Regions from separate parts of the Homo sapiens genome. Here regions 2 and 3 are each linked to region 1. Evidence: promoter capture Hi-C in 16 types of primary human blood cells and fetal thymus (Javierre and others, 2016). All regions are on one chromosome and are shown on one strand. Each heading gives the region's core, a stretch centred on a gene start or on the middle of the fragment in contact. The rest is flanking DNA. Distances are from core to core; before and after follow the strand shown. Region 1 holds the start of GDPD4 (glycerophosphodiester phosphodiesterase domain containing 4). Region 2 has its middle 48 kb from the start of LINC03030. Region 3 has its middle 8.7 kb from the start of PAK1.

Region 1 (3,212 bases), core at 280-2,779:
ATGATTAGGGCCTAGTGGGCATTGAAATGCAATAAGATAATGACTAGGCGAAATAGGAAGTATCCTAATAAGCAGAATTTGGTCACTCTGTGTAAGGTGGAGGGTTGGGGGGTTGCAAAGGAATAGGAGGAGTTGAGGATGAGACATCTGTTTCACATCTTGTCATTTAGTGATTTAGAGCCATAGAAGATGGAGCAGACATGAAGGGAAAGATAATGAATTTAAGTTAGGGTTTACTGAGTTTGAGGTGTCTGCAGCAGGACGGCCAGATTGAAGGCCAGTGGCTGGCAGTTGGAGATAAAGGTCTAGAGCTCAGGAACGAGGTCAGAGTCAGAGAAATGGCTAGAGGAATCAAAGATTAAACAAACAAAAGCGAAAACAGGCCCATTTGTGGCCCTTTGAGTGGTTGAAACTGGTTTAAAAAAGGTAAGGCAAAGTGGGGATGGTTACTGGGTACAACAGATATATAGTTAGAATAAATAGGATCTAATATTTGACAGCACAACAAGGCGACTACAGTCAGCAATTATTTATTGAACATTTTTAAAAATAACTAAGAGTGTAACTGGAACGTTCATAACCCAAAGAAATGATAAATGCTTAGGTGATGGATACTCAGTGTACCTGATGTGATTCTTTTTTTTTTTTAGATGGAGTTTCACTCTTGTTGCCCAGGTTGGAGTGCAGTGGTGCTATCTCGGCTCACTACAACCTCTGCCTCCCAGGTTCAAGTGATTCTCCTGCCTCAGCCTCCTGAGTAGCTGGGATTACAGGAATCCACCACTGTGCCCGGCTAATTTTTTTGTATTTTAGTAGAGACAGGGTTTCATCATGTTGGCCTGGCTGGTCTCGAACTCCTGACCTCAGGTGATCCACCTGCCTCGGCCTCCCAAACTGCTGGGATTACAGGCGTGAGCCACTGTGCCTGGCCTCCTGATGTGATTCTTACACATTGTATACCTTTATCAGAATATCTCATGTATTCCTACTATGAGTTGTATAAATAATACACTTATTATGTACCCATAAAAATTAAAAATTTGTTTTAAAAAGGCAGAAAAAATAGTTAAAAATAAAATAAAATAAAGAGGTAGCCTGGGCGTGGTGGCTGGGGGGCACAGGGCTGTAGTCCCAGCTACTCTTCAGGCTGAGGCAGGAGGCTGCTTGAGCCCAAGTTTGAGGCCCAGACTGGGCGACAAGACCCCGTCTCTTAAAAAATATATAAATATATAGATAGATGTATATATATATATGGCAATTTTATGAATAACTGGGATACAAAAAATTGGTAATGCTTGAACTAAGTTATTAACAAGGACTAAACTTAAACAGTCAAGTTCTTTTTGTAAGAACCAAACCAAACCAAAAACAAAGAGAGCATACCTTACCGGACATTTAAAAGGTGGGGCTCTGAGCCAAGGCTGGGGGTCTGGCCTTAGCTTCAGCCTTGCTCTGGCACGGGGTGTCCTTGACCACGCCCACAGCCCCGCCAGGCCGCCCCCTCCCGCCCCGCCTCCCTCGGGCTGCCCTTCCAGCCAGGCGTCCATCTTAAGAGACGCTGGTCTCCTCAGGCGTGAAGATTGGATTTGGGTTGGGACTGGGAAGTCTCGGTAAGTAAATGTGCCCAGTTCCGTGCTTCCTCCCTAAGCAGCACCAGAAGCAGGAAGTTCTATTAGTATTATTAGTCGGCGGCCAAACTTGAGGCCCTTTGACGTTGTTCGCTCACTCTGTCGGGTCGTTTGTGTCCCCTCTCGAGGATTACGGGCCTGGACCTCCTGTTCAGTATCTGACAGTAGCGGCTTCGTGTATTTTCTAGTTTTCTAGTTGTTAATGGCGAAGGGGATAAAAATCAGCTTCGACTATGCCAATCCTGGGCGGCAACCCTTGGGTTTTGATCTCATGAGCTGGGGAATGGCGGTGACCTTTACTGAGATGGGACAGATTGCAGGAGGAATCGATTTTAGAGGGAAAAAACATCAGGGGTTCAGTTTTGGACATATTACTTTTGAGGTGCCTGTGAGAAATCCAAATGGAGATTTCAGTAGCCTGTCGGATATATGAGTGTAGAATTCAGAGAAGAGCTCTGGGAAGGAAACAGTGTTTCTCGATCTCCCCTTAAATATTAGGAATTTTCATGTAAACGTGGCTACGCTGGCTGGTGCTTAGACACAAAGTATCTGCAGGTGTGTAGACAATGGTGGTGGTAATTATTCTGGTTAAAAAGCTGCCTTTTATTCGATATCCAAGCAGCTTACCATCCTCCCATAGAGCTTTTTGTTCATAACGTCTGCCCTTGGACACCCCAGTATTTGCAATTAGTCACACCAAGTTCTATATATATGCAGTAGTTTCATCATTAACCAACTGAAAGTTTTTTTCTCATTTCCATTGTGATTTTTCTTTGACCATGCGTAGGTTTCTGTGTGTTTAATTCCCAAATGTGCAATTTGTTTTTCTTACTGATTTCCAGTTAAATTGCACTGTAGTCAGAAGATATATTCTTAAGATGTCAAGGTTTATTAAAACCAATTGTGATTTTTGATAAATATTCCATGTCCATTTTAAAGTACACTCTGCATTTGTTGAGTACAGTGTTCTATAAATGTTAAGACTAGTTAATCAACTTTTACAGTCGTCTATATCCTTACAGACTTTTTTTCTGCTTATTCTGTTTTTTTTTTAAGAGGTGTGTTAAATCTCCTACCATGATTATGCATTTGTCCATTTCTCCCTTAGAGACTAGGTGATTGGGTACTGTTATAGTTTCGGTGCCGCAAAAGAAATAGCACTCAAATATAAAATTTTCTTTTTAATTCTTAGCAAGGCAATATACTTCTATAGAAGGGTGCACCCTTACATATGGAGCAATGGTGAGCACACACTTGGACAAGGGAGGGGAAGGGGTTCTTATTCCTGACACACGTGGCCCCTGCTGCTGTGTCGTTCCCCTATTGGCTAGTGTTAGACCGCACAGGCTAAACTAATTCCAATTGGCTAATTTAGAGAGAGTGACGGGGTGAGTGGTTTGGCGGGAGTGAGGGTGGAGCAGGTGATCAGGATGAGTCAGGGCAGAGCTGGTAATCAGAATGAGTCAGGATGGAGCAGGTGATCAAAAAAGGTTGCTTTACGAGGAAGTTTAAAAGTAGAAGGCAAAGAATTGAACATACTGACATATTGATTCTTTGAAGAGAAATTTAGAACTCATATCTAAT
Region 2 (3,212 bases), core at 481-2,980, 220 kb before region 1:
AAGCACCCATTGATCTTCCAGTATGACTCAGGCCTTAAGCCACATACTGTGAATAAACAGGATTTTAGCTCTAATCTCAGAATTTAGTGGGAGAAATAAGATGTGTGCCCTTCTCTCCTCCAACCCTCCCCTACACAGAGAACACAGAAGAGGGCAGGCTTGCTCAGCTTGCTCAAAGAAAGTTTCTCAAAGAAGATGGCATGTAAGATGAAACTTGAAGAATGAAACTGGTGAGGGAGAAAGGCGGTCCAGGTAGGGAAGAGAGCGAGCATGGCATGCACGTGGCATGAGGCATGCTAGGAGATGGATGAATGCAGTTGAATGGATGAAACTACCCCAGTGGAGTGCACACTCCAGGGGGCATGTTCTGGGAACTGTAAGTCCCTTCCTGTGGCTGAAATTTAAAGTATGTTGGGATGGGCAGGAGATGGAGCTGGGGAAGGAGGAAAAGTCCAGACATGAGGCAGGCATGGTTATGGGCCTTTGTCCTGATGACAATTAGAACATTAATGGATCATTTTAAACAGCAATATGCCATGATCCAACGATGTTTTATTCTTTTCTTGATAAAGGTGTATTTGAAAAATTACATAAATAATATGCGTTTATTTTGGAAGACTCATTGGGGCCTTTCTGTGGGAACAATGATTTCATTCTCCTATTTTTATTACCAGTACATTGCACATCTCTCTGTGTCTCTCTATTGCTGTAAAAGAACCTTTCTCTCTGATTGGACTTGACACACAGAAGGATCTCAGTAAAGATTTGCTGTTGTTGATGTCCACAGACACTGGCAAGGTGCAGCCAGATTACACAAGGCCGTGATCTGGTCCAAACGTGACACTGAGAAACTGGAGCTTCACCAGATTGAAAAATTTAACACTTCCATTGCCACTTCACTGTCATTATATTTTTTAAATTCTCATTTTGAAAAACTTTTTATTATGGAAAAATGCATATATATTAATGCATATTTTAAAAGTATGAAGAGGCCGGGTGTGGTGGCTTATGCCTGTAATCCCAGCACTTTGGGAGGTCAAGGCGGGAGGATCACGAGGTCAGGAGTTTGAGACCAGCCTGGCCAACATAGTGAAACCCCGTCTCTACTAAAAATACAAAAATTAGCCAGACATGGTGGCGTGTGCCTGTAGTCCCAGCTACTCGGGAGGCTGAGGCAGGAAAATCGCTTGAATCTGGGAGGTGGAGGTTGTGGTGAGCTGAGATCGCGTCACTGCACTCCAGCCTAGGCAACAGAGTGAGGCTTTGTCTCAAAAAAAAAAAAAAAAAGTAGAAAGCATAGAATGATAAACCCTCATGTGCCCATCATCCAGCTTCAATAATTAACAACTCTTAGCCAAAAATTGTTTTATTTATATCCTTCCCTCTCCTTGACCACTGCATTATTTTGACATAAATCTGAGATATTATATATTTTAGTATGTATCTCTTAAGGATAAGAACCTTTTAAAAAATTTTTCAACTATTATTTTAGATTCAGGGGTACATGTGCACGTTTATTCCATGGATATATTGCGTGATGCTGAGGTTTGGGGTATAACTGACCCCATCACCCAGGTAGTGAGCATAGTACCCAACAAGTAGTTTTTCCACCCTTGCCCCTTTCCCTCTCTCAGCTGTCTAGTAGCCTGAAGTGTCTATTGTTCCCATCTTTATGTCCATGTGTACCCAGTGTTTCGCTCCCACTTGTAAGTGAGAACATGTGGTGTTTGACTTTCCATTCTGCATTAATTGGCTTAGGATAATGGCCTCCAGCTCCATGTGTGCTGCTGCAGAGAACATGATTTTGTAATTTTTTATGGCTGTGTCATATTCCATAGTGTATATGTATGGCATTTTCTTTATCTAATCCACCATTGATGGGCACCTAGGTTGATTTCATGTCTTTGCTATTGTGGACAGTGCTATGATGAACATATGAGTGCATGTGTTTTTTTGGTAGAATAATTAATTTTCCTTTGGATATATGTCCAGTGATAGGATTTCTGGGTCAAATGAGAGTTCTATTTTTAGTTCTTTGAGAAATCTCCAAATTGTTTTCCACAGTGGCTGAATAAATTTACATTCCCACTAACACAGTGTATAAGCATTTCCTTTTCTCTGCAGCCTCAACATCTTTTATTTTTTGACTTTTTGGTAATAGCCATTCTGACTGGTGTGAGATGGTATCTCATTGTGGTTTTGATCTGCATTTCTCCAATGATTAGTGATGTTCACAACAGGATGCAATTGGAGAAACTGGTTGTCTTACTAAGGCTTTGACTGGAAGGGTATGTGCTTCCCTTTAAGGAGTCAAGCTCAACTTGCAGAACTAAGAAAAGCTCCTTGGGAAACCTGATCTCACACCCTTGTCTACACAGTCCCCATGCAGGATTCCTAACCTGTGGTGAGTAAAGAATGTTACTTTCCAGCAGGCCCAGGAACCACATGTTCTTGGGACCTCAAGAAAAGAGAAGTTTATTCAACTTGCAGGTATTTGAGGATACAAACCCATCGCTGGCCTGGCTTTAAAAGGTCTTATCTGAGATTCCTTGTGGAACAGAGTTCCATTAAAGCCAATCTAAAAGGTCTATGTAGAAATAATTATTCTTGCTGCACTTTATGCAAATAATCTGACCAAGTATAAGACTAAAGTCTATTTTGCAAACAATGCAATCCTATCATAATTTGTTTTTAATGAAAATGAGGACTAGAGAGTGAAATTATGTTTCAAATCTCATCGTCATTAGATTCTAGACTCATTAGGTGTTTTTAAGTTTTTGCCTACATTTTCGGCTAACCCTGCTTATTCCTGTGAACCATCCAGCAATCTCTGGCTGCAGCTCAGAAAGAACAAAAGGGATGGGTAATGTAGAAATCCGGATCAATATTCTAGTTCTGAGCAATTATCCTGCAAATCCTGCCAGGTGATGGGAATAAATAGGATGCCCTGGAGGTTTCCTTTTTGGGAAAGTAAGATCAAGGGAGCTAACCAAGCCAAGCCCCATGCACCCAAATCTTGGCAAGCATAACTATCACCACTAGCTATCTGGGTGTGTCACAAGACATCCTTTTCTTTCCCTTGTTGGAGGAGGACTCAATTCCACAGCTGCACCTTAACATTCGGTTTATGATAAGGAGTACATGCACCACCCGCCTCCTGACACATTTTTTTTTTTTTGAGGTGGAGTTTCGGTTTTGTTGCCCAGGCTGGA
Region 3 (3,212 bases), core at 409-2,908, 180 kb before region 1:
GTTGAGCACTAATATACCACATCCACCCGAGGGGGTATATTGCTTAATGAACAATCTAACCACCAGGACCAAAAGTTCAGTCAAGCCTCCTGGGGACTGACATGGAGCAGCTGATTGTTGAAGCCACTCTGGTTTTCTCTTGTGGGCCCACCTTGTCTCTGATCTCTACTTATCTCTGTTCATCTTCTCAGCTTTCCTTTTTTTTTTTTTATGGATAACTTTTTTTTTTTTGGCTTACTCATGGTTTTTCTCTATACTAATGTTATAGGACTTATGGTTTTCTCTATACTAATGCTTACTAAATAAAGCCTTCAGTTTGCTATGGCACCCTACACTCCCATTCTACATTGCCTTTCTAATAAAGCACTTGGTACCATATGGCTGGCTCTATTTTTCATTTCCTAATTCCAAATTCCAGAGAAAGAGAGAATCTGATTGATCTAACCTGAATCAGATGCTCATCCCTGGTCCATTCAGCCAGAAGGATGGGACTTTGTGTAACGTAAAGCTCTGCCATTCTATAGGTATTGTCAAACTAAGTTCTTTAGAAAGAAATATGAAAATGGAGGCAAAAATAGACATGTCTACTTTACTAAATTTTCATCTCCACGAATTGCTGTAACCCCTTCAGTTCCATTCTTAGGATGTTATAGTTAGTTCTCATTACTCACACATTAGCACCTTCCATATGGCTAGCCATGCAATAGCATTTTTAAGCTTTATTGAGGTATAATTTACATACCAGAAAATTTGCCCAATTTAAGTGCACAGTGATTTTTAATAAATCTATGCAGTTGTGTGAAGATCACTGCAATGCAATTTTAGAACATTTCCAATACCCCACAAAGTTTCCTTGTACCTGTTTGTAGTCAATCACTGCTCTTACCCCCAAACAACAACTGATCTGTGCTCTGTCTTTATAGATTTTCCTTTTTAAAGAAATTTCATGTAAATGGAATCATTCAATATGTAGCAAAGTAGAGTTTTGATAAATGTCTGTTGATAGACTGGTGTGCTAAATTTTTAAAGAGCCCTATAATCCTCCTCACTTTCCTCATCCCATTTCCCAGCATGTCTATTCCTTTTCAGTGACTTGGTCTGAGTTTTATTTCTGTCCATGGATTACGAACATGCCGTTATCTGATGAGGTTGTTTCAACCAGCTGGTTATACTCTTTCCTACTTTCTCCACTCTTTCAGGCCACAGAGACTATTCTTTTTTTTTTTTTTTTGAGATGGAGTCTCACTCTTGTCACCAAGGCTGGAGTGCAATGGCACAATCTTGGCTCACTGCAACCTCCGCCTCTTAGGTTCAAGCGATTCTCCTGCCTCAGCCTCCTGAGTAGCTGGGATTACAGGTGCCCACCACCATGCCCAGCTAATTTTTGTATTTTTAGTAGAGACAAGGTTTCACCCTATTGGCCAGTCTGGTCTTGAACTCCTGACCTCAGGTGATCCACCTGCCTTGGCCTCCCAAAATGCTGGGATTACAGGTGATTACCTATCATTCAAGAGTGAGGGAAAAGCTGGGTGTGGTGGCTCATGCCTGTAATCTTAGCACTTTGGGAGTCTGAAGTCGGGAGGATCGCTTGTGCCTAGGAGTTCAAGACCAGCTGGGCAACAGAGGGAGATCCTGCCTTTACAAAAAGAAACACTCAAAAATTAGCTGAGCAGGGTGGCGAGTGCCTGTCATCCCAGCTACTCAGCAGGCTGAAGGCTGAGGTGGGAGGATTGCTTGAGCTCAGGAGGTCGAGGCTGCAGTGAGACGAGATCATGCCACTGCACTCCAGCCTGGGTGACAGAGTAAGACCCTGTCTCAAAAAAAAAAAAAAGAAAAAAAGAGTGAGGGAAAAATAAAATCATTTTTAGACATGCACAAAAACTAATTAAAAGGAATTCAAGAGGAATGATCAGTGAGTGTTAAAGTATATTGAAGGTTTCATCTTACTTTGGAGGAGGATGGAGACACTGATAATTTATGGAAGTTTATAGCTAAATTTATATATATCTTTTTTAAGGATAATCATTAAAAGAATAGAAAGACAATTTTTATCTTCTAAGGCATCAGTGGGGCAGAGGGAAGCCAAGAAAACGTTATCAATCCAACAGAATACAGAAAAGAACAATAAAGAAGCAAAATAGGCCGGGCGTGGTGGCTCACGCCAGTAATCCCAGCACTTTGGGAAGCTGAGGCTGGCGGATTACCTGAGGTCAGGAGTTCGAGACCAGCCTGACCAATATGATGAAACCCCATCTCTATTAAAAATACAAAAATTAACTGGGCGTGGTGGGGTGTGCCTGTAATCCCAGCTACTCAGGAGGCTGAGACAGGAGAATTGCTTGAACCCGGGAGGCGGAGCTTGCAGTGAGCCAAGATCGTGCCACTACACTCCAGCCTGGGCAACAGAGCGAGACTCCATCTCAAAAAAAAAGAAGCAAAACGGTAAAAAGAAAACATTCAAGATAATAGAAATGAACATAGCAATAATCACTATTAACAAGGAATAGATATTTATTTAGTACCTAATAAGTACAGCACTGTTCCAAGCTCTAGAGATATAGTAGCGAGTAAAACAAACTCCCCACACTCAAGAAGCTTACATTTTCCTGGAGAGACATGTTCTAATACAGGAAGACACAATATAGTGAAACAGATTAAGCTCACCTATACAAATCCAAAAACTATCATTGCATAAAAATAGAATCTAGCAATTGTGCTACTCAGAAAAGACGTAATTTTTTTTTTTTTTTTTTTTGAGATGGAGTCTCCCTCTGTCACCAGGCTGGAGTGCAGTGGCACAATCTCGGCTCACTGCAACCTCTGCCTCCCGGGTTCAAGCAATTCTCCTGCCTCAGCCTCCTGAGTACCTGGGACTACAGGCACATGCTACCACACCTGGCTAATTTTTGTATTTTTAGTAGAGATGGGGTTTCACCTTGTTGGCCAGGATGGTCTCGACCTATTGACCTCGTGATCCGCCCGCCTCGGCCTCCCAAAGTGCTGGGATTACAGGCATGAGCCACCGTGCCTGGCCTAAAGATACAATGTTAAAAGACACAAATCACCCAAATCACAGGCCTAACAACAGAGAATCACCACATAAATCAAAAAGGGAAAAATTGACAAATGCACAGTTATATATATTTGGAGATTTTTTATCACATTTTTACATTAAGTTGATGGATCATTAACTTAAGTTGGAACATTAAGTT

Evidence for each region. Contacts are between HindIII fragments. The CHiCAGO score rates a contact against its expected background, and 5 or more counts as called.
Region 2: a fragment that was not itself captured here is called in contact with the fragment with the promoter of GDPD4 in region 1 in 1 of 17 cell types (M2 macrophages); the score reaches 5.5 in M2 macrophages.
Region 3: a fragment that was not itself captured here is called in contact with the fragment with the promoter of GDPD4 in region 1 in 1 of 17 cell types (endothelial precursors); the score reaches 5.1 in endothelial precursors.

The regions. Positions count from the first base shown.
Region 1 is chr11:77,300,003-77,303,214 of GRCh38, reverse strand. GDPD4 (glycerophosphodiester phosphodiesterase domain containing 4) reads left to right here and starts at 1,529. Exons shown (of 17, transcript NM_182833.3): 1 at 1,529-1,610. The HindIII fragment of the contact is 12,830 bases long and covers 1-3,212 here.
Region 2 is chr11:77,521,496-77,524,707 of GRCh38, reverse strand. It overlaps a transcript of PAK1 not described here. Among named protein-coding and RNA genes, the nearest start is that of LINC03030, 48 kb to the left of the region's middle. The HindIII fragment of the contact is 3,525 bases long and covers 1-3,212 here.
Region 3 is chr11:77,481,217-77,484,428 of GRCh38, reverse strand. It overlaps a transcript of PAK1 not described here. Among named protein-coding and RNA genes, the nearest start is that of PAK1, 8.7 kb to the right of the region's middle. The HindIII fragment of the contact is 1,878 bases long and covers 720-2,597 here.